Regions from separate parts of the Homo sapiens genome. Here all the other regions are linked to region 2. Evidence: promoter capture Hi-C in human tissues and cell types (Jung and others, 2019). All regions are on one chromosome and are shown on one strand. The core of a region is centred on a gene start or on the middle of the fragment in contact, and the rest is flanking DNA. Distances in the headings are between cores, read along the strand shown. Region 1 overlaps PDLIM3 (PDZ and LIM domain 3). Region 2 holds the start of PDLIM3 (PDZ and LIM domain 3). Region 3 has its middle 11 kb from the start of CCDC110.

Evidence for each region. The method cuts DNA at HindIII sites, captures the fragments that hold promoters and counts their contacts. A contact is called where the count stands out against the background at its distance.
Region 1: a contact is called between a fragment that was not itself captured here and the fragment with the promoter of PDLIM3 in region 2, in 9 of the 25 tissues and cell types used here (aorta, heart left ventricle, hippocampus and 6 more).
Region 3: a contact is called between a fragment that was not itself captured here and the fragment with the promoter of PDLIM3 in region 2, in 2 of the 25 tissues and cell types used here (IMR-90 fibroblasts and aorta).

What each region holds. Positions count from the first base shown.
Region 1 is chr4:185,500,494-185,503,723 of GRCh38, reverse strand. It overlaps PDLIM3 (PDZ and LIM domain 3), which reads left to right. Exons shown (of 8, transcript NM_014476.6): 8 at 1,241-3,064. The coding sequence ends at 1,430. Among named protein-coding and RNA genes, the nearest start is that of CCDC110, 30 kb to the right of the region's middle. RefSeq lists an enhancer at 924-1,423. The HindIII fragment of the contact is 6,731 bases long and covers 1-3,230 here.
Region 2 is chr4:185,533,936-185,536,999 of GRCh38, reverse strand. PDLIM3 (PDZ and LIM domain 3) reads left to right here and starts at 1,493. Exons shown (of 8, transcript NM_014476.6): 1 at 1,493-1,658. The coding sequence starts at 1,566. The HindIII fragment of the contact is 14,334 bases long and covers 1-2,745 here.
Region 3 is chr4:185,481,085-185,484,456 of GRCh38, reverse strand. No RefSeq gene overlaps it. Among named protein-coding and RNA genes, the nearest start is that of CCDC110, 11 kb to the right of the region's middle. The HindIII fragment of the contact is 4,244 bases long and covers 1-3,372 here.

The DNA.
Region 1 (3,230 bases), core at 629-3,128, 34 kb after region 2:
CACCCGCCTCGGCCTCCCAAAGTGCTGGGATTACAAGTGTGAGCCACCGTGCCCGGCAGGGACCTTATGTTTAAATAGCCACACTTGCTAGTGCAGGATCAAGTCAACCAAGATAATTCTAACATCTCCATGGCATTCGTGCCATGTGGCCACGTCCCCATTCCCTTATTCCATTCCTCCTGCCATGAACTCACACACTGATGTGTCCTCTGTCCGGTTAGCCAGGATACATCCCAAGAAGGCAGTGGGGGATAAGCCTGGTTAGGGCAAAAGGAGGAACGTGAGACCAAAAGGTCAAAGCAGGGCAGGGAGCTCGGAGCAGAGAGGCCCTCAGTAAAATACAACAGTGCCTGACGTTACCAGAAGCAATCATTGTGCCTAAGTTGGAATAAACTGTTCACAGTAGAAGCCAATCCACCCACCCCAAAGGAATTCCATCTCTGCTGTTTGATCTGGTTTTTTGTTTTGTTTTGTTTTTGTTGTTATTGTTGTTGTTGTTTTTGAGACAGTCTCGCTCTGTCGCCCAGGCTGGAGTGCAGTGGCGCGATCTCGGCTCACTGCAACCTCCGCCTCCCGGGTTCACACCATTCTCCTGCCTCAGCCTCCCGAGTAGCTGGGACTACAGGTGCCCACGCCCGGCTAATTTTTTTGTATTTTTTTAGTAGAGATGGGGTTTCACCGTGTTAGCCAGGATGGTCTCGATCTCCTGACCTTGTGATCTGCCCGCCTTGGCCTCTCAAAGTGCTGGGATTTCAGGCGTGAGCCACCACGCCCGGTCGTCTTTGATCTGTTTTCTCTTGCTCCATTGAATAGAGGCTGGACCACGCAGACGGAAAGCAATCAGAGAGACTCTTCATTGGGTAGACAACCACCCCCGTCAAAAGCAGAATCTTTTGCAGAGGGGTTGGTCTTGTCTCCATCATGTCTCCCTCTTCAAAGAAACGATGGGGAAAGATCATGAAGTAGGATCCTACAAATTTTCTATAAAGTACTTGTTTGAAAATCTGAAAAATAGTCACACGTCAACATCAGAGAGAAACACGGGATGGTTTATTGTGGATATCCTAGATCTCCATGACAATTACATACAGTTTCACGGCTGTGCCTGCTTTCACAGCTGGAGGCCATTGTTTCCTGACTGTGAAATAGAGAACATCTGCCTTCTCTGTTGGGTTCTCTCCTTTGTCTCATATTTTTGCTCTGTGGTTTTTTAACTTGAGCTCGTTTTCTTCCCCAACAGCGGTGCTGTGGTGAAGGCGCGGGATAAGTACCGGCACCCTGAGTGCTTCGTGTGTGCCGACTGCAACCTCAACCTCAAGCAAAAGGGCTACTTCTTCATAGAAGGGGAGCTGTACTGCGAAACCCACGCAAGAGCCCGCACAAAGCCCCCAGAGGGCTATGACACGGTCACTCTGTATCCCAAAGCTTAAGTCTCTGCAGGCGTGGCACGCACGCACGCACCCACCCACGCGCACTTACACGAGAAGACATTCATGGCTTTGGGCAGAAGGATTGTGCAGATTGTCAACTCCAAATCTAAAGTCAAGGCTTTAGACCTTTATCCTATTGTTTATTGAGGAAAAGGAATGGGAGGCAAATGCCTGCTATGTGAAAAAAACATACACTTAGCTATGTTTTGCAACTCTTTTTGGGGCTAGCAATAATGATATTTAAAGCAATAATTTTTTGTATGTCATACTCCACAATTTACATGTATATTACAGCCATCAAACACATAAACATCAAGATATTTGAAGGACTCTAATTGTCTTTCCTTGACAAGTTGATTTTGCAATTGTGGTAAATAGCAAATAACAATCTTGTATTCTAACATAATCTGCAGTTGTCTGTATGTGTTTTAACTATTACAGTGCATGTTAGGGAGAAATTCCCTGAATTTCTTTAGTTTTGTATTCAAACAATTATGCCACTCGATGCAACAAACATAATAAATACATAAAAGATTTAAAAAATACCTAATGAAGTGGCATTCATTGAATTCAAATAAAATCAACATTTCAATGAGAGAACCCAATCATATTTTAACATGTACACTAACAAATATTTTAAGATAAATGTGGCTTCTTCAGGTTTTATAACTCATTACTCTTTCTTATGAGCACAAAATTTCTGATGATAGAAGCGTTGAAATTTGCTAGTTAAAGGTAGTTCAGTCTCTTTCAAATTAAAAGTTTCACTTGCTTCAACAGAGACTCTTTCAATTTAAATATCTCTTTCAGATCAATATTCAGTCAAATTGAAGGTTCAAAGTCCATCACTGCTGTTTCTTAGGCTCAATGGTTCACCACCTCCTCCTCTTCCCAAGATGGCATCTCCAGGAAGAAACAATTTAGACGACTTCCTAAGGAAGGCAGGGGCTGCTGGTCTCCTGGGGTCCTGCTTGTATCCACTGTTGAAATCCTTGGTTTCACTTGTGATCTGTGGTCTGTTTTCTTGACATAGTTGAGGCCAGGCAATAATAACACCTCCACTACCACCTCCAAAACTCTCAGCTCAGCTTTCCTGGAGTCATGGATCCTCTGTCTGAGACATGCACTCTGCCTGGCCCTGGCGCAGGCAGCCTACCTTGCAGGCTCTGCATGGCGTTACCTTGCCTCTCACCCAGGGTGCCCATGGCAATGCTCCTGACTTGCATCTCTCACCTACTTTCCATGTCCCCCACTGGGGACGTACAGGAACTTCTGAAACTGTCCCCTCAGGTTCAAACCATGGGGAACCAGCAGGGTGGGGACCCTCAGACCCTCTGTCTCACCACCTTGTGTCACATGGTCATCTCTACCACCCCTCAACCCCCACAGCTGCTAACTTCTGGCCTGAAACAAGTGTTCTCCTCCCATAAGGTCCCAAATGGGACACAAGTTTTATTGCTCTGGGATTCTTCCAAACTTAACTGACTCTGACCCTGACCTGTTCAGGATTTTGAGAGGAGCCAAAACACGTGCCTGGCCCCTGTAGGCATTTGACATTGCAACTCCTGTGCCAACACATGCATTCACTAACAAAGCTATTAAAAAAATAAAACAGACTTTTGAGATCAAAGAAATGAATGTATCCAAAATACATGTTTGTTCAACAGTCATTTTCAAACATTTTGTTCTGGGAAGGATATAAAGTTAAAGTTTAGAAAGCAAAGGAATGGTAACTGACTTTGAAAACCTGAGAAAGTTAAAACTCAAAGTAGCAATGGAGAAAACCATAAACCAACCCAA
Region 2 (3,064 bases), core at 244-2,743:
CCCAGCTAGTCTCACCTCTACCTTAACAGTCACTTCTGAGCACTTTCCTGCTGGTCTCCGTGAAGAGCAGGATGTAGGAAAACTGCCCATCTCATGTCCCTGCTTTCCACACTCTCTGCAAAGCCTTAGGAACTCATCAAGCCTGGGTGACAGATTAAGACTCTGTCTCCAAAAAAAAAAAAAAAAAACAAAAAGAAAGAACTCATCAGATATTATGTGGATATTGTATAGATATTGGCTACATCTAAATGATGCCAAAATGACCAGCAAAAAGGCAAAGAAAAAATCAGCTGTTTATATAAGCCAGCTCGTGAAGTAAGGTAAAAACAATTACTATAATTACACAACACCAAATGACTTGTCTGATTTTTTTTTTCTGAATGGACCTCTGTGTGTGTGCACGTGTATGTCTGCACCACGCAGACAGAGCCAGCAGCTGACTGAAGAAATGTGCTCTGCAGTGATACAGCCACAGCCCAAACAGGCAGTCAGCAGGACACACAATGTTCAGCTCCTCGATGGTCCAGCATAGATGGGGCACTGGGAAATGTGTGGAGCTAGAAAGTGCTTATCCCCTGGGACTTTTATGTAATCCACCACAGCGGACAAAGTAATGCCCATCCTACCTTTGTGATTTACATTTGCCCAGGCTGGTTCGCTTTGCTTACTGCTTACTGCTTACTGCTTTCTGCATCTCCTTTCTCTTTCCTCCATCAGTCTTAAAACTGCTTCCAAACAGACTGCCCTCTTAAAAGTCTGCTGCAGCTCTGTCCTCCTGGACCAATACGACCCTATCATATGGGGCATTAAGTCCAAGACCCTTATTCTTGAGTGTTTAAAGCATTTCTTATTTCTCTTCCCTCATTCTCCCCTCTCCCTTTGGGAATCACAACATCCCAACGCGTAACACCAGAAATACTTGAGTCCACACTGAGACTACCACAGGACCCCGGCCAGACTCTCCTGCACTTTGGGAGGCTGAGGTGGGAAGATTGTTTGAGCCCAGGAGTTCAAGACTAGCCTGGGCAACAAAGTGGAGACCCGGTCTCTAAGAAAAATAAATAAATAAAATAAAAATTTAAAAGGACATTAAGTAATTTGGCCAAAGCCGCAGAGGTCGTAAGTAAATATTAACGCACTCGAAACTGCTAAATAACTTATTGTATCGATGATGCTCGTTTTAATTGAAAGCATGGAGGCTGTGGTCTGGCTGCTTTCGCTTCCAACAAAGTGCACTGCTGCGCTCCAAGCAGAAGATAAACAGGGAGACAGGTGTGACTTCAAGAGAGCGACGGACGCTGTAACCCGAAGCCCCCGCGCCCGCCGCGGCCCGGGAGGCTGCCCCAGCCGGCCGGGCTGCGCACTCCCGCGGGGCTGGCGCGGCTCTCGCTTCCAAAGTTGGAGCTCTCCGGGGTGGGAGGGGGCGGGGAGGACGGCGGGGCGGTGACGTCACCCCCAGCGGGGATAAAGCGCCCCCGCCCGGGTCGGGGCCAGGACGCCGCCCGGCGCGGAGTGGCTGCCCTGCGCGGGGACACTTAGAGCCCGGTGGGCGGGAGGAAGGCGGCATGCCCCAGACGGTGATCCTCCCGGGCCCTGCGCCCTGGGGCTTCAGGCTCTCAGGGGGCATAGACTTCAACCAGCCTTTGGTCATCACCAGGGTAGGTGTCGGCATTCTTGCTTTTGCTGCGAGGTGGGGACTCCGGCGGCGTCCGGGGGGACGCAGTGGATGCCCCGGGGCCGAGGGCGGCCAGAAAGCGCGCGAGGGCGGGCGGACGGGGCGCTGCTGGCTCCCGGGCTTCGGCGCCCAGCTCCGGGGGCGGCGGCAACTCCGTCAAGTGGCTGCGGAGCGGCTCAGAGATTTGACAAAGTCCGCTCTAAAGGTGTCCCATCCTCTGGGTCCGCAGCGACTTTCCGAGGAGAGCCACTGGGCTCAGGGAAGGCGAGGCTGCCAGGCTCGAGTGCCTCCTCCCCTTTAGGTTTTAAATGTTTTATATGTGATAACAGAAATAAAACACACCCCATCGCCCTTCCGTAACAAATGATGGGTCCCGGGTGGGAGAGGCGAGGGACTGGCACCCCCCGGCATTCCCTGGAGCTGGCGCGCATCTGAGCGTTTTTCTCGTCCGGATGAAAAGTTCAGCAGCGCGCTGTTCGCGGGGCACGACCTGCGTTGGCCAAACTGGAGCCGCTCCTATCAGCCCAGACAGGGGAAGTCTTCCTAATGCTCACTCCTCAGTTTCCAGGCATTTTGAGCACGTTTTCCAAAGCTGAGAACTTGGCTTAGGAATTACCAACTTCTAACTCTAGCTACAAAGAAAACGTGGCAGACAGTTTAGTTTACCTGATGCAAAGTAAACCACTCAGCCTAAAACGGAAAATAATGCTTTAATGTCAAAGTCAAGCTTTACTTGGTGTTCTCTACTGTCTAATGAGAAAACAAGGTAAAAATAAAACCTCAGGGTTTCTCTCCTGTCAGTAAATTTGTAGAATTAATTCTAAAGCATTATTTGGTCTAGCTGGTTTTTTTCTAACACAATGTTTTTCTTCATAGAAAATTAATGTATTATTTCAGTTATCACATATAAAACATTTAATACCTAAAGGCGTAAACTTCCAGAATATTATACTTTTAGTTGCAGAGTATTATACTTTATTTTCTTGTATTCTTCTCATGCCATATTTTATAATTGTATGTGTTATAATCTGATTGATCTGCTCATACAGATTTTGAACAAGGTAATACCTTTTAAATTCTGTTTTATTTATATATGCCTATGAGATTTGGGAACCAACATCCTTTTAAAAATATGTCAAAATGTGTATCCTACAGACGCATACAATGGAACGTTTCAAGCCTTGTTTTACATTTTTCAAAAACATATAAACACATCTGACGTGTTTTTATATGAAACATGAAAACTGTTCAACATACCCCCAAAAACGTTCCTAAGTAAAGTAAGCAGAAAATGCTTCAGTGACCTGGGCCAAGCAATTCCTATTATAGATTTACCAACAAAAACAGTTTCCGTTATATCTACTAAGAAATGTTTTAGTTTCTGGAGTA
Region 3 (3,372 bases), core at 457-2,956, 53 kb after region 2:
AAAGCACAAGCAAAGAAAAAAATAGATAAATCTGACTTTATGAAAATGTAAAACTTAAATGTGCTTCAGTGAACACTATCAAGAAAGTAAAAAGATAACCCACAGCATGGGAGAAAATATTGCAATCCTGTATCTGATAAGGGTCTGGTATCCAGAATTTTAAAACTCTTACAATTCAACAATAAGTAACCCAATTTAAAAGCAGGCAAAGATTTGAAAATACATTTGTCCAAAGAAGATATGCAATTGGCCAATAACCATATGAAAAGATGCTCAACACTATTAGTGATTAGGAAAATACAAATCAAAATCACAATGAGATACCACTTCTCACTCGTTAGGATGGCTATAATTAAAAAGATAATAACAAAAGTTTTCAAGAACGTAGAGAACAAGGAACCCTCACATATTACTGGTAGAAATGTAAAACGGTAACCTGCTTTGGAAAATAGTTTTGCAGTTCCTTAAAATGTTAAACATGGAGTCACTTATATGATCCAATTTTTCATGTCTAGTATATAATAAAGAAAAATGAACACATATGTCCACACTTGCACACAAATGTTCACAACAGCACGATTCATAACATCCAAACAGTGGAAATAGCATCAAGGTCCACTAACTGATGAATGGATAAACAAAATGTGGCCAATCCATACAGTGGAATATGATTCAGCCATAAAAAGGAATGAAGTACTGATAGATGCTACCACATGGATGAACCTTGAAAATAATATGTTAAATTAAAGAATCCAGACACAAAGGCCATATGTTGTATAGCTTCATTCATAGGAAACATCTAGAATAGGCAAATCCATAGACACTGAAACTAGGTTAGTGGTTGCCTGGGGCTGGCGGGGAAGGTAGAGTGGGGAGTGGCTGCTAAAGGGTACGGGTTTGGGGGGTAGTGATGAAAACATTCTGGAATTAGACAGTTGTGATGCTCGTGCAACATTATGAATATACTAAAAACCACTACATTACATACCATTAAAAGATGAATTTTATGGTATGCAAATCATATCTCAATAAAATCAGTCGGTCCACGTATTTTATGGTTCCATTAATAGGAAACATCCAGAATAGGCAAATCTGCAGAGACAGAAAATAAATTAATGATTGCCTAGAGCTGGGGGGTTGCGGTGAAATGGGGAATGGTAAGTAATGGGTGCAGGGCTTTTTTTGGGGTGACGAAAACATTCTGAAGTTGTTTTGTTGTAAGATTGTTCCAAAATCTGTGAATATACTATGAACCATTGAATTACACTTTAAATGGGTGAAGTATATCTCATTAAAGCTCTTCTTTTTAAAAAGAACACTAATATAAATATGTATGTGTCATTAATCTGTTAAGTATATACATTCCTAAGAACAGAAATGTTTAGGGTCAAATGAAACAACATGGTTAGAAATATTCTTCCTTATTTAGATGTTTTATAAATCCCTTTTCTGGAAATGCATGATCATTGCTGATATAATATCAATAGCAAACACACAGCTCTTACTATATACGAAGCACTGTTCTAAATGCTTTACATGCATGAACTCATTCACTCTTCACAGCAGCCCTGTGAGGTAGCCACTCTTTGTCTTCCTATTTTACAGATGAGGAAACTGAGACATAGAGGTTATTCCTTTTCTCCTGTAGTAAATGGAGGCAGAATTTGAATCCAGGTAGTCTGGTTTTAGAATCCAGGCTCTTTGCTTTTCACTTAGGATAATCATAAAGTTTTCATGGAATCACAAAGCTCTCAGTAAGCTTTGTCAAAATTGTCTCCTGGATTCCGTTTCAATATAACTTACTTCAGGTATTAGAGCCTAATGGTTACGAAAATGATCTTTGGACTCAGGCAGAGGTGACATGAATCCCAGCTCTCTACCTGTCAGCTTAAGAAACAGGGAAATCACGAAATCTCTCCAGACCTCAGTTTCATCAACCCATAAGATTAGGATAATCCTACTTTACAGGGTTGTTGTAAGAATTAAGATAATTCATACAAAAATATCAAACACATCACCTATTAAGTAAACTGTAAGTAATCCCTTAAGAAACTATTATTATATATAATTTTCACTATTCAATCCCAGATCCAAAATGACGTTCCTCTTTCTTCCAATTATTCTTTGGTACTAAAATCAAGGGTCAATTAAATGAGCACAACTATATCAAGCTGCAACGTTCACAGAGCTGGATTCCTATTCCTGCGGATCCCAAGAGAGCTGATATTTCACACTGAAACTGATCAGGTTCATGGAGCTCACTGGAGCTTTTCTTCATCTGAGGAGGGCAGTTTTAAAAGCCTGATCTCACATGAAACCCAACTCCACCAAAGACTCACTGACAATACTCTGTTATATCCAATGGTAATTTCAAGGCAATTCTTAATTCTTTAAGGATTTAGAAGACTAACAGAATTAAAGTCAATTCTGAGTAAGATTTCCAGCTACTGACACATTATTTCTAATCCTTATAACAACTTTGCCAAATAAATATTTTACAGATGAGGGAAAGTTTCAGAGAGTTGGATTTTTGTACAGGGCCAAACAGGTAGAAGGAAAAAAGCATGTAAACTCACCAATATTCACTAGTAATAAGTAAGATGGTTTGGAAATCTTTACACCTATGAAATTTAAACATTATTAAAATTCCTCCTCTCTATTGTATGGTTTTATTTTTTATCACTGATAAGTTATAGTCCATGTTTGTTCTCTTTAGAATAAAAATCATTTCTTCCATGAGTGCTAGCAAAAGCAGTGTGGAATAATAAAAACATTAAGTAATACTGTCACTAAGAAGGTTGTCATGGAGAGAGCTCTGGATAAGGACTTGGAATGCGGGCACAGCTTGGCCATCTGCAGAATGAGGAGGGAGGACAGGATGATCTCTGAGACCTCTAATACTCAAATACTCAATGTTCTGTTTTTGACATTGTCTTCACCTGTGTCAACTAGGCTGGCCATTCCATTTAGTGAGGGCACGCTGTCAATGTGGCCAGGTTCTTGGTGCAATTTAGAAGTTTCTTTCTGTTCCATGGTCATAAATGCCACCTCTAACTCATGCGTGGCTCACAACAGAAATCAAGCAAGGAGCATGCATTTATCATTGCAAATTAATTAGCTCCATTGAAAGTACACATTAATGGTAACTTTATATAGCAAGGGGAAACATGCCATTATTATTAATGTAAAACAAGTGGCCTGAGGCAGTGCAGCTCTTTAAGTGTCTAAAAACTAGAAGGCAGTTTGGCATCAAAAAGAAAGGGGCTCTCCTAACTTTTAAAGTCAGATAAAAAAGGAAAAAGAGAAAAAGGGGCTCATGTACTACAAGTTGAATTAAAGACTCCTCAGTCTGGAAGAGGCTACAGAGACTAC